3 separate regions of the Homo sapiens genome follow, and regions 1 and 2 are each linked to region 3. The links are contacts of gene promoters, found by promoter capture Hi-C in blood cells and fetal thymus (Javierre and others, 2016). All regions are on one chromosome and are shown on one strand. The core of a region is centred on a gene start or on the middle of the fragment in contact, and the rest is flanking DNA. Distances in the headings are between cores, read along the strand shown.

What was found. Contacts are between HindIII fragments. The CHiCAGO score rates a contact against its expected background, and 5 or more counts as called.
Region 1: a contact is called between a fragment that was not itself captured here and the fragment with the promoter of CCDC122 in region 3, in 1 of 17 cell types (monocytes). The highest score is 6.8, in monocytes.
Region 2: a contact is called between a fragment that was not itself captured here and the fragment with the promoter of CCDC122 in region 3, in 2 of 17 cell types (monocytes and total B cells). The highest score is 5.5, in monocytes.

What each region holds. Positions count from the first base shown.
Region 1 is chr13:44,994,358-44,997,421 of GRCh38, reverse strand. All of the region lies in intron 1 of GPALPP1 (GPALPP motifs containing 1), which reads right to left. Among named protein-coding and RNA genes, the nearest start is that of GPALPP1, 6.4 kb to the right of the region's middle. The HindIII fragment of the contact is 5,076 bases long and covers 1-3,064 here.
Region 2 is chr13:44,968,120-44,971,249 of GRCh38, reverse strand. All of the region lies in intron 5 of NUFIP1 (nuclear FMR1 interacting protein 1), which reads left to right. Among named protein-coding and RNA genes, the nearest start is that of NUFIP1, 20 kb to the left of the region's middle. The HindIII fragment of the contact is 948 bases long and covers 845-1,792 here.
Region 3 is chr13:43,878,370-43,881,375 of GRCh38, reverse strand. It overlaps CCDC122 (coiled-coil domain containing 122), which reads left to right and starts at 1,636. Exons shown (of 7, transcript NM_144974.5): 1 at 1,636-1,745. It overlaps LACC1 (laccase domain containing 1), which reads right to left and starts at 1,472. Exons shown (of 7, transcript NM_153218.4): 1 at 1,257-1,472; 2 at 1-424. The coding sequence starts at 390. RefSeq lists a silencer at 1,585-1,734. The HindIII fragment of the contact is 5,095 bases long and covers 44-3,006 here.

The DNA of each region.
Region 1 (3,064 bases), core at 543-3,042, 1.1 Mb before region 3:
GGAGTCTGTGGATCGCTCTTGAGAAAATATTTGCACCCCAGGGTTTCTAATGACATGACGTTGGGGGACATTTTCCAGCAGTCAATTTTCAGAGTATTCAAATGAAGTTAACTTGTTCCATCTCAGACCTGTGTGCTCCCTCACTCCTCTTTACTCTGGTCATGCTTGTCAGATCTCCTTCTGGGACAGCAGAGTGTGAGGAACACAGGACAGATAACAGACTGGATTCAGGAATCTTCACTTGAAGGTAATCCTGACACCTGCTACCACATGGATGAAACTTAAGGACATTATGCTAAGTGAAATAAGCCAGTCCAAAAAAAAAAAAAAGACAAATACTGTATGATTCCACTCAAATGATGTACTTAAAGTAGTCAAATCATAGAGACAGAAAGTAGAATGGTGCTTGTCAGGAGCTGGAGGGGGGAATGAGGAGTTATTACTTAGTGAGTACAGAGTTTCTGTTTTACAAGATGAAAAGAGATGTGGATATGTTGGTAATAGTTGCTCAATCATCTGAATGTATTTAATGCCACTGAACTGTACATTTAAAGATGGTTAAGATGGTACATTTCATGTTATGTGTATTTTATCACAATTTTTAAAAACTGGAAAAAAAAAAAAAAAAAAAAAAAAAGAGGCTGGGCACAGTGGCTCACGCCTGTAATCCCAGTACTTTGGGAGGCTGAGGCAGATGGATCACTTGAGCCCAGGAGTTCCAGACCAGTCTGGCCAACATGGTGAAACCCCATCTCTACTAAAAATACAAAAATTAGCCAGATGTGAGGGTGCATCCCCGTAATTTCAGCTAGTCAGGAGGCTGAGGCAGGAGAATCACTTGAACCAGGAGGCAGAGGTTGCAGTAAGCTGAGATCATGCCACTGCACTCCAGCCAGGATGACAGTGAGATGCTGTTTAAAAAAAAAAAAAAATCCCGTTCCCAGCCAGCCATTAGGTTTCTTCCAGACTCCATACAAAGGATTATGGTTAGCTGTATTCATGCAGGTCCTGGCTTCTCCAACCCCCATAAATCCTGGGCCCCTCTTAAGGAATTTTTTTTTTTTTTTGCGACAAGGTCTTGTTTTAACACTCAGGCTGGAGTGCGGTGGTGTGATCACAGCTCACTGCAACCTCAAACTCCTGGGCTCAAGCAATCCTCTTGCCTCAGCCCCCCAAGTAGTTGAGACTGCATGTGCATGCTACCATGCCTGGCTAATTTTTAAATTTTTAGTAGAGATGAGGTCTTACTATGTTGCCTAGGCTGTTCTTGAAGTCCTGGGCTCAAGTGATCCTCCCACCTTAGCCTCCCAAAGTGCTGGGATTATAGGCATGAGCCACTGCGCCTGACCAGGAATTTTTACTGTCCTCTACTCCGCCAAAAGGAATCTACTGAGTACCCACTTTGTGCTGGGTACCCTGCTAGTATTGGGGATTACAGAGGCTTAGGACGTGGTTCCTTTCCTCATGGTTTAGTGGGGCAAACCAGCAAACAATCCAGCACAATAACTACAGATAGAGAAAGCCACGTGTGCTCCCATCCCTCACCACAAACACTGTGGTCTTGGCACCAGCAGGACCAGCAGCAGCAGCAGCAGCTGGGAGCTTGTCAGAAATGCAGAATCTCAGGCCTCACCCAGATCACCTGAATCAGAGTTGGCATCTTAACAAGATCTCTGGGTAATCCATGTGCATGTTCAAGTTTAAGGTGCACTGCTACAGAAGACAGAAATAGGGTGACCAATTGTGCTGGTTTGCTTGGGATTGAAGGGCTTCTTGGGATGTGGGATTTTTAGTGCTAAAACTGGGACAGTCCCAGGGACTTAGGGGGTAATTTAGTCTTTGCTCCTGAACTTGGAATACTTTAAAATCCTGTCAGGGGAGGAAAGAAGAGACTGGCTAGAACATTGAAAGATTTTTTTTAGAAGTTCATCTCCTTTTTTAAAGATTCTGATAGGAACTCTCACTGGGAATCATTAAACAAAGATGTTAGATAAGCATCTAAGTTCTTATATAAAAACCTTCACCCCATGGGTGGGAATATCATCACTTAAAAGAGAGAATAGAGTATTAAAAAAAAAGAGGGCTTAGGAGTCAGCTTTCAGAATCTTTAACACCTGAAGGTTTAATTGAAGATAAACTATTCGAGATGAAGAGGAGCTGCCCAAAGAGGAGACAAAAATGAGGGGAGTATGGTATCATAGAAACCAAAAGAGAAGGGGTGTGTGTGTGTGTGTGTGTGTGTGTGTGTGTGTTTAAAGATAGGGGCTTGTGTCTGGGTGCAGTGGCTCACGCCTGTAATCCCAGCACTTTGGGAGGCCAAAGCGAGAGGATCACCTGAGGTCGGGAGTTCAAGACCAGCCTGACCAACATGGAGAAACCCTCTCTCTACTAAAAATACAAAATTAGTTAGGTGTGGTGGTGCACGCCTGTATCCCAGCTACTTAGGAGGCTGAGGCAGGAGAATAGCTTGAACCCAGGAGGCGGAGGTTGTGGTGAGCCGAGATTGTGCCATTGCACTCCAGCCTGGGCAACAAGAGCGAAACTCCGTCTCAAAAAAAAAATAAAATGCTCTCTCTCCAATGCCTCACATTTCTAATTATCTAACGATATATATAATGTGATATTCTGAACAATGACCCTAAATCAACAACAACAACAAAAAACCACGAATAAATAATTTCAAGAATACTTTTATTATGAAAACCATGTATTTTGGAAAACTGTGTGACTTTATGTTTATCACGTGAGGAGGCCCATAACACCTGAATCCCAAGATGAAGTTTTGTACTGAGCTCTGAAAACTAGCAAAACGAACGAAACTAAGGGATGGGAGGAAGCACTCAAACTGAGGGAACAACATGTATGAAGACTTCAAGGTAGGATGGGACATGGTAGGCAGCAGGAACAGAGAAGACCAGGTAATTCAATTCTCCTGCCTCAGCCTCCCGAGTAGCTGGGATTACAGGCATGCACCACCACACCTGGGTAATTTTTGTATTTTTTTAGTAGAGACGGGGTTTCTCCACGTTGAGGCTGGTCTCGAATTCCTGACCTCAGGTGATCC
Region 2 (3,130 bases), core at 69-2,568, 1.1 Mb before region 3:
GGATGAAGTTTATTTATACCTGTGATGTTGCTTTGTTTAGTAAGTGCTCTGAAAATTCTTTGGGCACTGGGTGAGTTCATCTGAGGTTCTTCCATAGTTTGTTTCTCAGGTTCTTGCTCTTTAATATATTCTGAAGAGTTCATATATATTTTTTCTGTATGTATATTTTATTAGAGGATATGGGAAATACTGCTTTTCTTTTGGTATGTTTGATAGATTTCTCAAAAATGCATAAATACTATCCCCACTAGCAATTTTTTAAAAACCTATTATGGGCCGGGCGTGGTGGCTCACACCTGTAATCCCAGCCCTTTGGGAGGCCAAGGCAGGCAGATCACTTGGGGTCAGGAGTTTGAGACCAGCCTGGCCAACATGGCGAAACCCTATCTCTACTAAAAATAAAAAAAATTAGCTGGGCATCGTGGCACGCACCTGTAATCCCAGATACTTGGGAGGCTGAGGCAGGAGAATTGCTTGAACCCAGAAGGCAGAGACTGCAGTGAGCCAAGGTCGTGCCACTGTACTCCAGCCTGGGCAACAGAGTGAGACTGTCTCAATAAAAAAACAACAAACAAAAAAACCCTGTTACAAAAATATACTTACTTTCTACATTCCTGTCATTCTCAATTTTTAAAAAATATTACTTGAACTCCTAAAAAGAGTAAGTTCCACATTGGTGTGGCAGAATAGTCCTTATTTCATGAATTTGATCTTTGTGTGAGAGCTACATTCTTTCCGATGAAGCCACTATATTCTTTGACATGCAGGAAAAATAAGGTCTTTATGTAGTTGCTCTGTTAGGAAAAGCTTGTGAAAGATTTCACAGAGTAAGAATTTTAAAGCTTAAAGAAAACTGAAGGTTTGCTTGGCATATGGCTTCCTTATCTTTGACAAAAGTACATCTTTGTCCTTACTTCTACATCTCTGTATTTTTCAGGTTAGTCAGACTCAGGGGTACCGAGTGTATTTAATTTAATAACTTTTAAGGCTTTCCATTAATAGCCTTTCCCCTACCTCCCCAAAAAAGCCACCAAAAAAAGTTATTCTTTCTTAATTCCTGTCCTATGTAGTACCAATGCTGTATGATTTGGCTTTAGGGAAAATGAGTGGTAGAGGTTTGTTTCCAAAACCTTGCTTTTATTATAGAAACAGTGGAACATTTTTCACAGCAGACTGGGAGTCCACTAGGTGGAGTAGTTTTACAATTTATTTCAACGCTTACTGTGGCTCTGAGGAAATCCTTTTGTTTCCCTGGTTCATGCAGAATTCCAACACAGGAGATCTGCTCTAAAGAATGCTGTATCTTTTTGATGTTCAGAAAGAAAAGTACAATAGTGTAGCTTGTGTGGAAGCAGTTGTGGTTTAATGAGAGTGGGAAGAGTAACTATGTTTTATAGAACAGGCAGAGGGGAAAAGCCAATAAATGGGTCGTGATTTGAGCATAAGGAAAAAATTGGAGAGAATAATGTGACCAGAATGGTCTGTGCTAAGATAATGGTTAGGACGGTTTGCCCATGTGTTGGCTCTGTAGTGCTTAAAGATTGTCACTGGAGGCATAAGGTATAGGCAATGAGGAAGGTGAAGAAGAGGTAAAAAATGAAAGAAGAGAGGAAGGAAAAGAGCATAGTTTCAGGACCATTTCCTCTTAGTGAACTGAGGAAAGATAGAAGTACAGGGAGAAAATGATTTTAGTAGATAAAAATATAGAAAAACCAACTGTGAAAATTTCCCTTGTCACGGTCTTTATAACTTCATATTATCCATTCTCTAACAGGAGATATTGGACTAAGCTTTACATGTATGTAACTGCAATGTAAGACATAATTTATGTTTTTTCAATAGTCTTTGGATTTGTTATTTCTTGTACTTTAGGAACCTGAACTCCTTCATCAGAACTCCTTTTTTTTCGTTATTCATTTATCTCAGCTTCATGTTGGTGGAGTGGGGCTTCCTACTGTTGTTTATGTGTGTAATTAGGTCTTGTGTTTCTGATTTTTCTTTTTTGCGATAATGTGCTTTTTAGCAACCATTTTTCTCTCTAGTTTTAAATATCTGGATTCTGTGTAAATAAGAATGTAATAAATTTTGGAAGAGGATTTTATTGATTTCAGCACCAAGAAAAATAAAATCTTACAACTTTTTAAAACTCTAATCTTACTTTTAGGAACATGATACTTAATTTTAGGAAGACAAGTTTCCTTACCTTTAGGAACATGATATTTAATTTTAGGAAGTTAAGTTTCTTTACCTTTAGGAACATGATACTGCAGTCTGCCTGAAAGAGAAAATTAGCTGTTTTAAAAGGCTTCCATCAAAGGAGTTTCTACACATCACATCTTTGATGTTTCACTTAGGGAACTCTTTCTTATATCTTACCTAAAATCCACTTGCTATAACAAGTTTAAATTCTTTACCAATGAAAAGCAGTTACCTAGCATCTGCTCTCTGGTACGTAGTACACTGTAGTGCCAAATTTTATCATGTAACATATAGCCCAACATGGTAAGAGTCTGCAATACTCTGCAAAAATGTTGAAGAAACTTAAGTAATAAGTAAATTTGAGAATTGTGGAGGGTGTTGAGTAGCTGTGAGTTACATGTCTCGCCACTGTGAGGCCTGTAAAAATCATTACTGTTTTTCTCATTTCTACTTCTGCATATTCTCTTCAGTTTGAGAACAACTGGACCATCCTCTCTGTAAAACTATTTTTATTGTCGCTTCTCATCTTCTTTTAAAGGTTGCAAATAGTTCCTTTCATCTTTCTTTGGAGGTTTTATTTTTCATCCTATTAATCATCTTTGAGTCTCTTCTGAATCCCTTCCAAGTCTTTTTTTTTTTTTTTTCTTCTCAGTGTTCCTTTAGTTTAGAAGTACAGAACTGGACACAGTGCCCTGAGATTATCTGACTGCTTTTGAGTATCCTGGAGGAAGATTTCACACTCGTACAAGTGCCAGAGTCTACTTCTTATAACCTTAGATTATGTTTGCTTTCGAAAAATGTAGTCATGTATTGCTGACTGTCAGATTTTTATCTCCTATGACCTTGATCTTTTCCTTTTATGTTTATTTATAGTTTGTACATTAATCATCTTTTTTTATGGAGTCTATTTTTCTTGACTGGATATATATTG
Region 3 (3,006 bases), core at 387-2,886:
TTCAAAATTGTAAACATCAGTGAAGAGTTGATCAATAAAAGCTTTCATTAATGTCTTCCTGTGCCTGGGTACAATTACCTTAATGCTGCTCAGATTTTTTTCATCAATTTTCTGTTTAATGGTATACAAAGTGGCAGCCATGCTGGGACAGCTAACAATCTCAAATTCTTCCAAGAGAGCTGATAATCCATTGCTTGTTTCTATTTCACAATTATCTTGTTCTCCATCCCTTTCATAGCTGATGTTACTGCAACACATTATACAGAGAAACTTGGCCTTGGCAGCATGGTGGTATTGGACAGCATTCAAAGTCTTCAGTAATGTCTGATGGCAGTTTTTTTGAGAGTTCAATTTCAAACCAAAAAGATCAATCAAAACAGCTTCTGCCATCCTTGAAAGAATACTTTTATGCCAAATAAATCACCTGCAAATAAAAATTAGTGTAAGAATATAAGATTATATAAATCTTATAGTTACAACAGAAATTTGTGGTAGATTAAAAACGAAGTAATTACACTGATTTTAAAATGTAACTAAAATAGTAAATCTAGGCCCCTCCCAGAAAAGCCAGTCTACTCTGTCACAACAGAACCATGACAGTGAAAGCAAAGCCATCTTTTAATTCGTTTTGTGAAAATGCTGGTACATCTTTCCAGCAGCACGACAGTTCCTCTGTTTTGTTTACACAGAACTTTTGAGTAAGGAATTACTTGTGGAGTTTAGACAAAGTCCTGTTTTTAAATTGCAGAGTGTCAACCTGTGTGATATATCATTAGTCCTGACATGATTGTCATATTAGGTCTCATCCTTTCATATGCGGGGGCTTAAGTTTACGAAGCTAAATGGAGCTGCACGCGAAATTCGCGTTTTAAGATGATAAAAGCTGAGATGGCTAATAGAGTTCCCTTCAGGATTTGCGCAGTACTCCACACTTAGCAATGACCACAAAAGCTATAGTGATTTGGATGAGACAGGCTTCCTCTCAACTTTCTTAATTCATTCTCCCCGTGCAGCTTTGCTCACCTCCAGCCCAGCCCTCCCACCCCAACCTGCGGGGCTCCGGTGACCCCCTTTGGTGACGCCCTTTGCCCCAAGAAGGTTTTCTCCTGCCGCTTCCCCTAACCTTTGCTCCCCATCTCTCGGGGCTCCCTCTGAGGTTCATTTAGCCAGTTTTGAGTGGGTGACCGTCCCCCCTTCCCTGTTCATTGTGAATTTCCGCCCAACGTGTGTCGCCGCCAGGTCCCTGTTCCTCCTACCCGCCTCGGCTCACGGGGCGCAGGCTGTGGCTCTGCACCTGCCCGGGCACCTCCACCGGCGGCTCACAGCCCATTCGGGACTTCCTGTCGGACAACGCACACCAGAGGCGATTCGGTCCTCGCCTTCCCGCTCTTCACCTTCGGTTGCACACCGGTCTACGGCGACCTCTGTGACAATTTGCCGCCCCGTCCCTCGTCCTGAGCCTCAACGAAATTGGGCAGCCGCGAGCGGGTCAGCTGGAGTCGTAAGCTCGGCCCAGCGCGACGACACCCGCCCCGCCTCACCTCGCCCACCTCGCCCACCTCGCCCCGCCTCGCCTCGCCCCGCCTCGCCCCGCCTCACCTCGCCCCCCTCGCCCACCTCGCCCCGCCTCACCTCACCTACCTCGCCGCGGCCGCACAGATTCCCCGCCTGATACCGTCCCAGGATCCCAGGGGAAACCTGACGGCCAGGTTCCCTCGTGCCAGCTGCCGGGAGGCGGGAGGGAGGTAGGCCAGGGCCGCCTGGCGTGCTTGGTGCGAACGCGGCGGGCCCAGCGCGAGAGCTGGGGAATCCCGGGATGAGCCAAGCGCCGCGAGCCCGCTGCTGCCTCAGCAGTTCCGGGTCTGGGCGGTCCGCGGAGTCGGCATCCCGCAGCCCCGGCGGCGTTAGAGGAACAGGAACCAGAGCCGCGCGAGGGCTCTCGCCCGGGAGCCAGGCGGGTTAGCGGGCAGGAGTGGGCAGGCCGAGTCCGGAAAGGGTCGCGAGGAGGCAGCTAGGGGCCCCTTGAGGAGGGATAGGGCGGCGGAACGACGGGCCCTGGGAGCGGGCGCAGGGCGGCAGGAGCTGCAGGTCTCCAGAGGGCACGGGGCGGGGAACTAGGGGCCCGGTTAGAAAGCCGGGCGGCGGGAACGGCGGGCACCGTGAGGGGGCGGCGGGAATGGTGGGTCGCGTGAGGCCGGGCTGCTGGAGCGACCTCGGGACTAAACCGCAGTCTCCCTTCTGCTAATGGAAGCCGTTTCCCAAGCGAGCTGAAGTCCGCGTTTCCGGTCTCTGAGGGACGCCTCGCTGACCCAGCAGTGTGGTCAGGACGCTGGGTTTCCTCACCGCAGCCCAGGGCCAGTCCCTTGTCATGCTAGCTCTTGGCAGCTTTTCCCATGCAGGGCTCAAGTCAGGGGCCCCCTCGAGATGTTTTAGTGTTTTTTTGTTGTTCATTTGTTTCCAGAAACAAGCTGTTGTCTCTCCTCCAATGTCTTTGTGCTGATTCTTGCTGACCAACACTCTTCCGAGCGCCTTCACTTGTGTTGACAACACGGATGTCCTCTATGGCCTTTTAAAATATGTGCCACTAGCAGGACTTAAGTAAAAGGCGCTCATCCCTAAAATCATGATAAAGGTGCAGTTTAGCATCCCTGATCTGTCCTCCAAGAATATAACGTTCATTTATTTGAAAATAGCAGTTAGGACATGGAAGGCCAGTGTATGGTAAAGGGAAAAAATATCCGACCTTCCAAGAGTAAGAGAAATGGTGCTTCCTGGGGAACTGGTTATGATGGAAGGAGAGGTCCCTTTTATCTTCATTGTTGCTCATTTGGTAGGCGCTAAAGAACCTTTGTCTCATAATCTCAGATAGCTGGGAATTTGGAAGAGCCCTCTGGGGTAGGCATGTTCTTGTGCTTGACTAGAGACTGGGAGCACTAACCCAGAATGGAAACCCACCCTTCAATAACCCTAGCACCAGTTATGTCAAAATTCATGTTTTCTTTGGTC